Regions from separate parts of the Homo sapiens genome. Here all the other regions are linked to region 3. Evidence: promoter capture Hi-C in 16 types of primary human blood cells and fetal thymus (Javierre and others, 2016). All regions are on one chromosome and are shown on one strand. Each heading gives the region's core, a stretch centred on a gene start or on the middle of the fragment in contact. The rest is flanking DNA. Distances are from core to core; before and after follow the strand shown.

Region 1 (2,700 bases), core at 1-2,500, 450 kb before region 3:
TGTGCCCTGAACCCACCCTGACCTCCCTGGGTCCTTCCCCAGGGGATCCTTGAGAACATCCAGAGGAACAAGCTGCTCTTTATTGAGACCCAGGATGGTGCCGAAACCAGTGTCGCCCTGGAGAAGTACCAGGAGGTGGGTGTGCGAGGCCAGCGTGGAGAGGGGTCGGGGAGGTGGCTCTGAGGAGTGACCTAACTTGCGTCTCGGTCTCCCCACCTCAGGCCTGCGAGAATGGCCGCGGGGCCATCCTGCTGTCAGTGGCCCGGGGCAAAGTGTCCGAGGGAATCGACTTTGGTGAGTGGACTGGGCTCTTCCTCCCCAGGTGTCTTCCCAGAGCTCTCTGGAACACCTGCCCGCTCTGCTGTCTGCTCCCGCGGGGAACCACCCACCCCCAGCCTAGGTGCACAGAGGGGCCCTCCCCTCCCCTCTGTCCCTAGGCACCCGGCGGGAACACACCCTCTCCCCCCAACTCAGACACAGCATCCTGGGTCGCGTGAGGCTGTCCCTGTCCCACCAGCCACACTTGTAACCCCCCTCGCCCCCTCTCCTCTGCCCACCAGTGCACCACTACGGGCGGGCCGTCATCATGTTTGGCGTCCCCTACGTCTACACACAGAGCCGCATTCTCAAGGTGAGTAGCTCTGTCTCCCAGGGAGTCCCACAGTGTTAGGATCAAGGGAGGAGTGGCTCCCCCACCTCCCCAGCTTCTCATCCTCCGTATCTGCAGGCGCGGCTGGAATACCTGCGGGACCAGTTCCAGATTCGTGAGAATGACTTTCTTACCTTCGATGCCATGCGCCACGCGGCCCAGTGTGTGGGTCGGGCCATCAGGGGCAAGACGGACTACGGCCTCATGGTCTTTGCCGACAAGGTGCAGCTTCAGGGGTGCCCCTGTGCTCCCATCCCAGGCTCCAAGAACCAGGCTGTTTCCCGTTCATTTCCCAGGTGGGGTGGGTTGCAGGGTGGAGAGTGGCCCAGGCTCCCCGAATGACCTTCTGTCCCTGGCCTGCGCTTCTGCCCACAGCGGTTTGCCCGTGGGGACAAGCGGGGGAAGCTGCCCCGCTGGATCCAGGAGCACCTCACAGATGCCAACCTCAACCTGACCGTGGACGAGGGTGTCCAGGTGGCCAAGTACTTCCTGCGGCAGATGGCACAGCCCTTCCACCGGGTGAGGCCTGCGTCCCCCTCCCGGCACCCTCCCAGGCTGAGCTTCTCCTCCAGAAAGTCCCCTTGGATTCTCCCCACTCCCCACCCTCAGCCTGCCTGTCCTCCTGCCCTCAGCAAAGAGAAGTTTATCGTGCATCTACGTGCCAGGCTCTGGGGGGAAGGGGGAGATTCGAGGGGCCACAGATGCCAGCAGGTGGCCCAGGCACGGCAGGGTGAGAGAAGTTGGGGTGAGGAGGCATTGGGCGTTTTCAGGAGAGACGGTGCTGGCCTGGAGAAAGCCGGTCCTTCTCCGACTCCCTAGCTGGCTCCTCCCTCAGCCCCATCTTATGTTGACAGGGATGGCCCGCTCTGGATTATACGGACATCTCCAAATTCATTCAAACATCCTGTCCCTACTGGCCATTCGGGGGGGTGGTTGGGGAAGTGCAGCAGCTGCCTGGGCCCCTGCCCAACAGTGCCCCCCTCTCCCTTTCCTCTGTTCTCTGCAGGAGGATCAGCTGGGCCTGTCCCTGCTCAGCCTGGAGCAGCTAGAATCAGAGGAGACGCTGAAGAGGATAGAGCAGATTGCTCAGCAGCTCTGAGTGGGGCGGGTGGGGCCATAAACGGTTCCTGGTGACTCCTGAGTCTTGCCTGGCCCTGGTTCCCAGCGGCGGTGGTGCTAGAAGGTCTTATGAAGTCAGGTGACATTTCTCACTGTCACGTCCACAGCCTTTAATCGCAGGAGAAGGCAGCTATCCACCAGGTACCCAGAGGCAAGGGGGGGCCAGGAGATGATAGACCCCCTCTCACCCCACCAGCCCATCCCTCCTGCACTGTTCCCAAGAAGCTGCGGCCAGCGCAGTTCACTGGACGTTAGTGGGGGCTCAGGTCCTGGGTGCTGGCGCTGAGGGTCCGAGGGGCCTTGTCCAGGTGCCAGCTGGGAAACTGGAGACAGGCACAGGGGATGGTTGGAGGGGAGGTGAGGGGCAAGTGTTACATCCACCCTCCAGCTCCAGGTCCAGCCTGGCAGCCAACTATCCAACCCCCTCGCCTCTACCCCAAGTAAAACCCATCTTTGCTCCTGTCCTGGGTCTCTTCTGACACCAACCCACCACCTGCTGACTCCACCACTGGCCCGACCGCCCTGCCTTTGCCTCATCTCTGCACCTACCCACATGGCCTCCTCTATTTTTGACCCAGATGTCCCCCTCACCTGAGTCCCAGGAGCCCTTGGAGCATCCACGTTCAGTGTGTTGAGTGACATGGCTCTCTTCATTCTGCAAAGAGGGCAGCAGGGAGGAAATGAGTGAATCCAGGAGTGGCCCCCCTCCACGAGGGACCTTTCCAGCACAGGGTTTGATCTGTGTGTATCACAGGGGAGATGGGAGCCATGGAAGGTTCTTGAGCAAGATGGGGGTGGGGGTGGGGTGGGCTGTGGATTCTGCTGATGTCAGGGCTCTTTGCCGACCTGATCAACACTCACCCGGCTGCTCCTGCCGCCGCCTCGCCTCGGAGCCGGGAGACCAGCTTCTCACTTCCTCGCCTGATAGACTC
Region 2 (3,191 bases), core at 531-3,030, 260 kb after region 3:
TGTGCTTGGCTGCAACCAGCCTGGGCAGCATAGCGAAACCCTGTCTCTACCAAAAATACAAAAAAAATTAGCCAGGTGAGCACCTATAATCCCAGCTACTCCAGAAGCCACAGTGAGAGGATCGCTTGAGCCTGGGAAGTCGAGTTTGCAATGAGCCGGGATTGTACCACTGCACTCCAGCCTGGGCAACAAAGCAAGACCTTGTCTCTCTCATACACACACACACATACACGCACACACGCACTATATATATATATATATATATATATATATACACAAAACATATAAATAAATAATAAAATATGTTATCTATTTACTCTTTAAATGTATAATAAAATATATATTATTTATTATATAAATAATATATGTTATAAATATATAATATATTTAATATATATTTATTAAGAAATATATTATTATATATTATCAATTATATAATACATAATACATATTATATATTATAATAATATATATAATATATAATATACATATTATATATTATAATAATATATATAATATATAATATACATATTATATATTATAATAATATATATAATATATTATAATATATTATATATTACTATAATATATATTATATATTTTATTATATATTATATATTACTATAATATATATTATATATTTTATTATATATTATATATTACTATAATATATATTATATATTTTTATTATATATTACTATAATATGTAATATATAATAATAATATATAATATATATATTTATCAGGAGTTTGAGACCAGCCTGGCCAACATGGTGAAATCCTGTATCTACTAAAAATACAAAAATATTAGCCAGGCATAGTGGCACATGTCTGTAATCCGAGCTACTCGGGAGGCTGAAGCAGGAGAATCGCTTGAACTCGGGAGGAGGAGGCTGCAGTGAGCCGAGAGCAGGACACTGCACTCCAGCCTGGGTGATGGAGTGAGACTGTCTCAAAAAAAAAAAAAAAAGAATGAAAGAATGAATGAATGGCCAGGCCCCTGGAGTCAGACATTGGGGGTCAGAGGGGTAATGGTGTCAAGTGTCACCCACTGTCCTCCTCCCCAACATCAACCATCCCCTCCGTCCAGACCCAGCCTGCCAGCACGCTGCTGGGTTATGGCCTGGGTATGCTGAGCAGGAACCTGGGTAAGGTAATCCGGCATGCGTCACCATCTGCTGATTTTCCGGGATTCACTTGCCTTTTTGGGAAATTTCCTCACCCAACTCCATCCCCTTTCCGAGGGGCCCAGAGGAGGGTCTTGTGCCCGACCCGTGTTGCTGCCAATTTCGAGGAATTTCTGTACCCAACTCCGACCGCTCTCCGGGTGGCCAAGAGGAGGGTCCTGCCCTCGCACCCTCGCACCGTGTTCCTTCCAACCCCGGGGCAGAGATGGGGGGTGGGTGGCGCCGGGCGGGGCCGTCATCTTCGGGAACCCAAGGGGGCGAGTACCCGGCCTGGATGCGGAGCTGGGAGCCAGACAGGGGCCACCGGACTGCGCGGGGGTCACTCACCGGTTCCTGGGGGTGGCCAGGACAGCACCAGTAGCGCCACCAGCAGCAGCGGCCACGCGGCGGCCATGGCTCGGGCCATGCCAGTTGCTCCGAGCAGCTGGGCCTCCCGCGGGCGTCTCCTCGCTTCCCGGCGCCCGCTCGCTCTGCCGCGGTCGCTGCGAGTCCAGCTCCCGGAGCTCAGGTCCTGGAATCCCCGGGGGGCCGCTCCTCCAGTGCCTGGGGTGGGAAGGGGAATACCCACTTCTTCAAGCTCCAGACAAGTGACTGGAGCGGAGGGGAGTTGGCGGCCAGTCCCGCCAGGCGCGGGGTGGGCCACCCAGGCTGGCCCTCCCCGCGCGCCTGCGCCTGCGCAGGTCTCTCCCGGCGCTCAGTCCCGCTGCAGACGCGCGCTCGCTCCGTCGGTGCCCACTAGAAGAGGCGGCTTCCTGTGTGAGGTCGCCCACATTCCAGGTGAGGAAACGGAGGCACACGGAGAGATTCAGCAACTTACTAACGGCTCGCGGTTGCCGAGTGGCAGAGCTGAGGTTCCAACTCGTGATGGGACAGATCCTGAGCCCACCAGGCTGTCCTTCCACGCAGCCTAAACTTCCCATGGGCTTTGGGGTCAGACAAGACCAGGGCTCATGTTGGGCAAGTGGTTTCTCCTCGAGGGCCCTCAGATTCTTTATCTGAAAAATGGGCATAGTAGGGCGCGGTGGCTCAGGCCTGAATTCCAGCATTTTGGGAGGCTGAGGCAGGAGGACTGTGTGAACCCAGGAGTTAGAGGCTTCAGTGAGCTACCATTGCGCCACTACACTACAGCTTGGGTGGCAGAGCCAGACCTGTCTCAAAAAAAAAAAAAAAAGTTTGGGGGCTGGGGGAGCAAGCGCAGTGGCTGACGCCTGTAATCCCAGCACTTTGGGAGGCCGAGGCAGGAGGATCACCAGAGGTCCAGGAGTTCAAGACCAGCCTGGCCAACATGGCAAAAACCCATCTTTACTAAAAATACAAAAATTAGCCGGCATGGTGGCACATGCCTGTAATCCCAGCTACTGGGGAGGCTAAGACAGGAAAATCACTTGTACCCGGGAGGCAGAGGTTGCAGTGAGCCAAGATCGGGCCTCTGCACTCCAGCCTGGGCGACAGAGTGAGACTCTGTCTCAAAAAGAAAGAAAAAAGGGCATACTAACAGTACTTACCTCACAGCGTGGTCTGTAAAACTTAAACAAGAAACTGCCTAGCTCAATTTCGGGGATATAGTTTGTACTAAATAAAAAGCTGATATACCAACAATAGCAGCAGTGGCAGTGACAATTATTATTATTGTTGCTTTACAGTTGGCATCAAATAATAATGTTCATGAGAATGGTCATTCATTCATTCTTCATTCAGCATATATTTATTGATCCAGCCAGTATCCCAGGCACTGGGTATACAGCAGAAAATAAGACAGACAAAAATCTCTGCCTTTAATGAAGACCGTGTTCTAGTGGAGGGAAACAGACCATAAACAGATTAATACCAGAACTCCATCAGGTCTGGGGAAGATAAGGGTTATGGACCAGCCTGCAGTAGGGAGAGGGGAGGAGGGAGGGGGGAGAGAGAAAGAGAGAGAGAGAAAGAGAGAGAGAGAAAGAGAGAGAGAGAGAGAGAGAAATGAGAGAGAAACAGACACACTCAGAGATAAGGGCTGGGAGA
Region 3 (3,002 bases), core at 161-2,660:
TGCATTAGAAACCTCTAACTCCCAGCCAGGTGCGGTGGCTCACGCCTGTAATCCCAGCACTTTGGGAGATCGAAACGGGCAGATCACCTGAGGTCAGGAGTTCCAGACCAGCCTGGCCAACATGGTGAAACCCCGTCTCTACTGAAAATACAAAAAAGTTAGTCGGGTGTGGTGGCATGTGCCTGTAGTCCCAGCTACTTGGGAGGCTGAGGCAGGAGAATGGCGTGGACCTGGGAGGCGGAGCTTGCAGTGAGCCGAGATCCCGCCACTGCACTCCAGCCTGGGCGACAGAGCGAGACTTCATCTCAAAAAAACAAAACAACAACAACAAACAACAACAACAAAACAACTTCTAACTCCTATCTCAAGGATGGGGGAAACCGAGGCCCAGAGAGCGTCAAATCGCTGTTCAGAGCCAGGAAGCAGCACAGAAGCCTCAGAAGAGGGGGCCCAGGGTCTGCCTGAATGGGGCCAGGAGGTTGAGGTGAGGATGAGAGGGGGAGGAGCGGGGGGAACCGAGCAAGCCCCGCCCCCATACCTGCCAGGAATGTGACCAGCAACGCAGCCCACAGAACCTTCATCTTCCTGCCTGTGATTGGCCAGTCTGGGGAAGGAGAAACTGTCAATCAACCGCCAGTGAGGACTCCTCCCACCCCCAGCCCGGCCCCAACCCGGCCTCACCCCAGGTTAGCCTTCCAAGCCTTGTTGCATTATCTGCAACAGCCTAATCCCAGCACATTTACCAAGCCGCCCCCAACCCATTCCCTATTTAACTCCCTCCTGGTCTTCTCTTATCTCCCCATCCCCAGGTCGGCCTCCATAGAAAATTCCATCTTCCTCTCCCGGGGTTCAAATTCCATCCCCCCACCCCCTCCCCACCGCCGGTTCCATCTCAGTCCCAGTCTCGCATTCCTCATTCTCCCTTCACATTCTAAGCTCCAACCTCACAGTTAAGCGCCGTGTTCCATTTATGAGCTAATTCAGTCCTCATTTTAAAGTTCTCCAATCGACGGCTAGCTACCGTGTCGCTGCCCCTGGCTCCCCAGTTATGGAGATCTGAGGACACTGGGGACACCCAGTAGGTGCTCGATAAATGATAGTGACAACTCGTGGAGTCCTGCTATGGCTTACATCCCAGTCCAGCTGCTCTCCCCACCCCACCTTCTAGCGGGTCGGGTCGTCTCTGCTGCCCAGCCCTTCCCAGGTCCAGTCCCCTGCTGCTTGCCTCACCCCCGCTCCTCCTCTCCCCAAGCCCGACCCCGAGTAGCTCTCCTGAGACTACCTGGAGGCCAGGGGTTCCCAGGGTCCCAGCTCTTTCTAGAGGCCCCTGAGCTCATCCCCGTGCCCCCGACTGCGCTTCTCACCGGCTCCTGGGGAAGGACGTCCTTCACCTCCGCTGGGGCTGAGTAGGACTCAAGGATCCCAGACTTGTCCAATTATAGGGCTCCCCCTGTCCCGCCCCCTCCCCCAGGGATAGGGCGGGCTGGGCCAGCCCCCAGTCACGAGGTGGGCTGTTCTCCCCCTGCCCCAGGCACAGCAGGGCAGAGGGAGGAAGGAGGTGGGGCATAGAGGTCTTTTGACCACCCCCCACAGTCCCCAGGAAGGGAGGACACCTCGCCCAGTAATACAGACACCCTCCTCCATTCTGGGGGCCAAGCGTGGAAGGGGAATGTGGAGGCTGCCGCCCAGAGTCCTCCTTTCCTGACCCTGTCCTTTCCTGTGCCTGGATGAATGTAATCTGGAGAGGGGGCTGGGGATCTGGACTCCTGGATCCCAGAAAGAAAGTAGGGCTAGGGGGCTGGACAGAAGTGGGATGGGAGGGGCTGGGGGCGGTAGCTCACGCCTGTAATCCCAGCACTTTGGGAGGCCACAGTGGGCGAATCACTTAAGGTCAGGAGTTTGAGACCAGCCTGGCCAACATGGTGAAACCCCATCTCTACTAAAAATACAAAAGTTAGCCAGGCGTGGTGGCGGGCGCCTGTAATCCTAGCTACTTGGGAGGCTGAGGCAGGAGAATCGCTTGAACCCGGGAGGCGGAGGTTACAGTGAGCCGAGATCTCGCCACTGCACTCCAGCCTCAGCAAGAGGGAGACTGTCTCAAAAAAAGAAAAAAAAGAAAGTGGGGCTAGGCGGCTGGACAGAAGTGGGATGGGAGGGGTGGGAACAGTATGATGCACCTGCTAAAAGTCGAGGCTTTGCAAATGGGACCTGGGTTTTAATCACAGCTTCCTCTTTGGTTGTGACCTTGAGCACAGGGGAGCCCCCTCCCCACATGTGAAATGAGATTCCAGCACCTCCCCCTGGCTGCCACAGGTATTGTGGTTTCCAGGGGCTTGAAGCCGTGCTTCTGGGTTAAGGTTAGGATTCTGGAGTCAAATTGCCAGGGCGTGAATCCTGGCTCTGCCAGTTGCCAGCTGTGTGACCTTGGGCAAATGACTTGTCCTCTCTGAGCATCAAGTTCCTTTGCTCATCAGACTGGGAAAGCAGCGGCACGGGTATGTTTGGTGACAAGCTAACGTGTATTGAGCATGGAGGACAGCCCTGGCACACAGCGGTCCTATGTTAGGGCTAGCAATGGACAGGCCACAGTGAACGCTCAGACGCTGTCACTTTCCTAAGCCCTGTTATAAATCCCAGATGTTTCAGAGGAGAAACCCGTGGTTCAGCAGCAAGACGAATGGCAAAACCACACAGTGAGAACTGGGAGAGACTGGGACTCATTCCTGGCTCCTGGAGCGGGTGGGATCAGAAGATTCTGCGGGTCAGGGGAGGCTGAACTCCTGGTTCGAGAAGGAACCCCCAGTGCCGGGCCGGGCCTGTTTGCTTTGGCTGGCAAGGGGTGGCTGAGGTGGGGTTGGTAACCTGGGGTTGGTTCTACTCAGCAGCCTCCTTCCCCAGACCCTGGGGGCAGACAGGGTTTCAGTTCCTGGAGGCTCGGGAGTCGTGGTGGGCATCAGCTGACCCCAGCCCTAGGTTGGCAAAATCCAGACAGCACCAAGTCC

The links. Contacts are between HindIII fragments. The CHiCAGO score rates a contact against its expected background, and 5 or more counts as called.
Region 1: a contact is called between a fragment that was not itself captured here and the fragment with the promoter of APOE in region 3, in 2 of 17 cell types (naive CD4 T cells and naive CD8 T cells). The highest score is 5.2, in naive CD4 T cells.
Region 2: a contact is called between the fragment with the promoter of PVR here and the fragment with the promoter of APOE in region 3, in 1 of 17 cell types (neutrophils). The highest score is 7.1, in neutrophils.

Annotation. Positions count from the first base shown.
Region 1 is chr19:45,350,677-45,353,376 of GRCh38, reverse strand. KLC3 (kinesin light chain 3) reads right to left here. Exons shown (of 13, transcript NM_177417.3): 11 at 2,630-2,700; 12 at 2,360-2,423; 13 at 1,858-2,091. The coding sequence ends at 2,020. It overlaps ERCC2 (ERCC excision repair 2, TFIIH core complex helicase subunit), which reads left to right. Exons shown (of 23, transcript NM_000400.4): 18 at 43-135; 19 at 222-294; 20 at 561-631; 21 at 728-871; 22 at 1,025-1,168; 23 at 1,656-2,700. The coding sequence ends at 1,748. Among named protein-coding and RNA genes, the nearest start is that of KLC3, 11 kb to the right of the region's middle. The HindIII fragment of the contact is 7,370 bases long and covers 1-2,700 here.
Region 2 is chr19:44,642,499-44,645,689 of GRCh38, reverse strand. PVR (PVR cell adhesion molecule) reads right to left here and starts at 1,780. Exons shown (of 8, transcript NM_006505.5): 1 at 1,515-1,780. The coding sequence starts at 1,593. RefSeq lists a silencer at 1,749-1,828. The HindIII fragment of the contact is 7,623 bases long and covers 1-3,191 here.
Region 3 is chr19:44,904,204-44,907,205 of GRCh38, reverse strand. It overlaps APOE (apolipoprotein E), which reads right to left and starts at 1,410. Exons shown (of 4, transcript NM_000041.4): 1 at 1,365-1,410; 2 at 539-604. The coding sequence starts at 581. RefSeq lists enhancers at 1-488, 1,291-2,093. The HindIII fragment of the contact is 10,718 bases long and covers 1-3,002 here.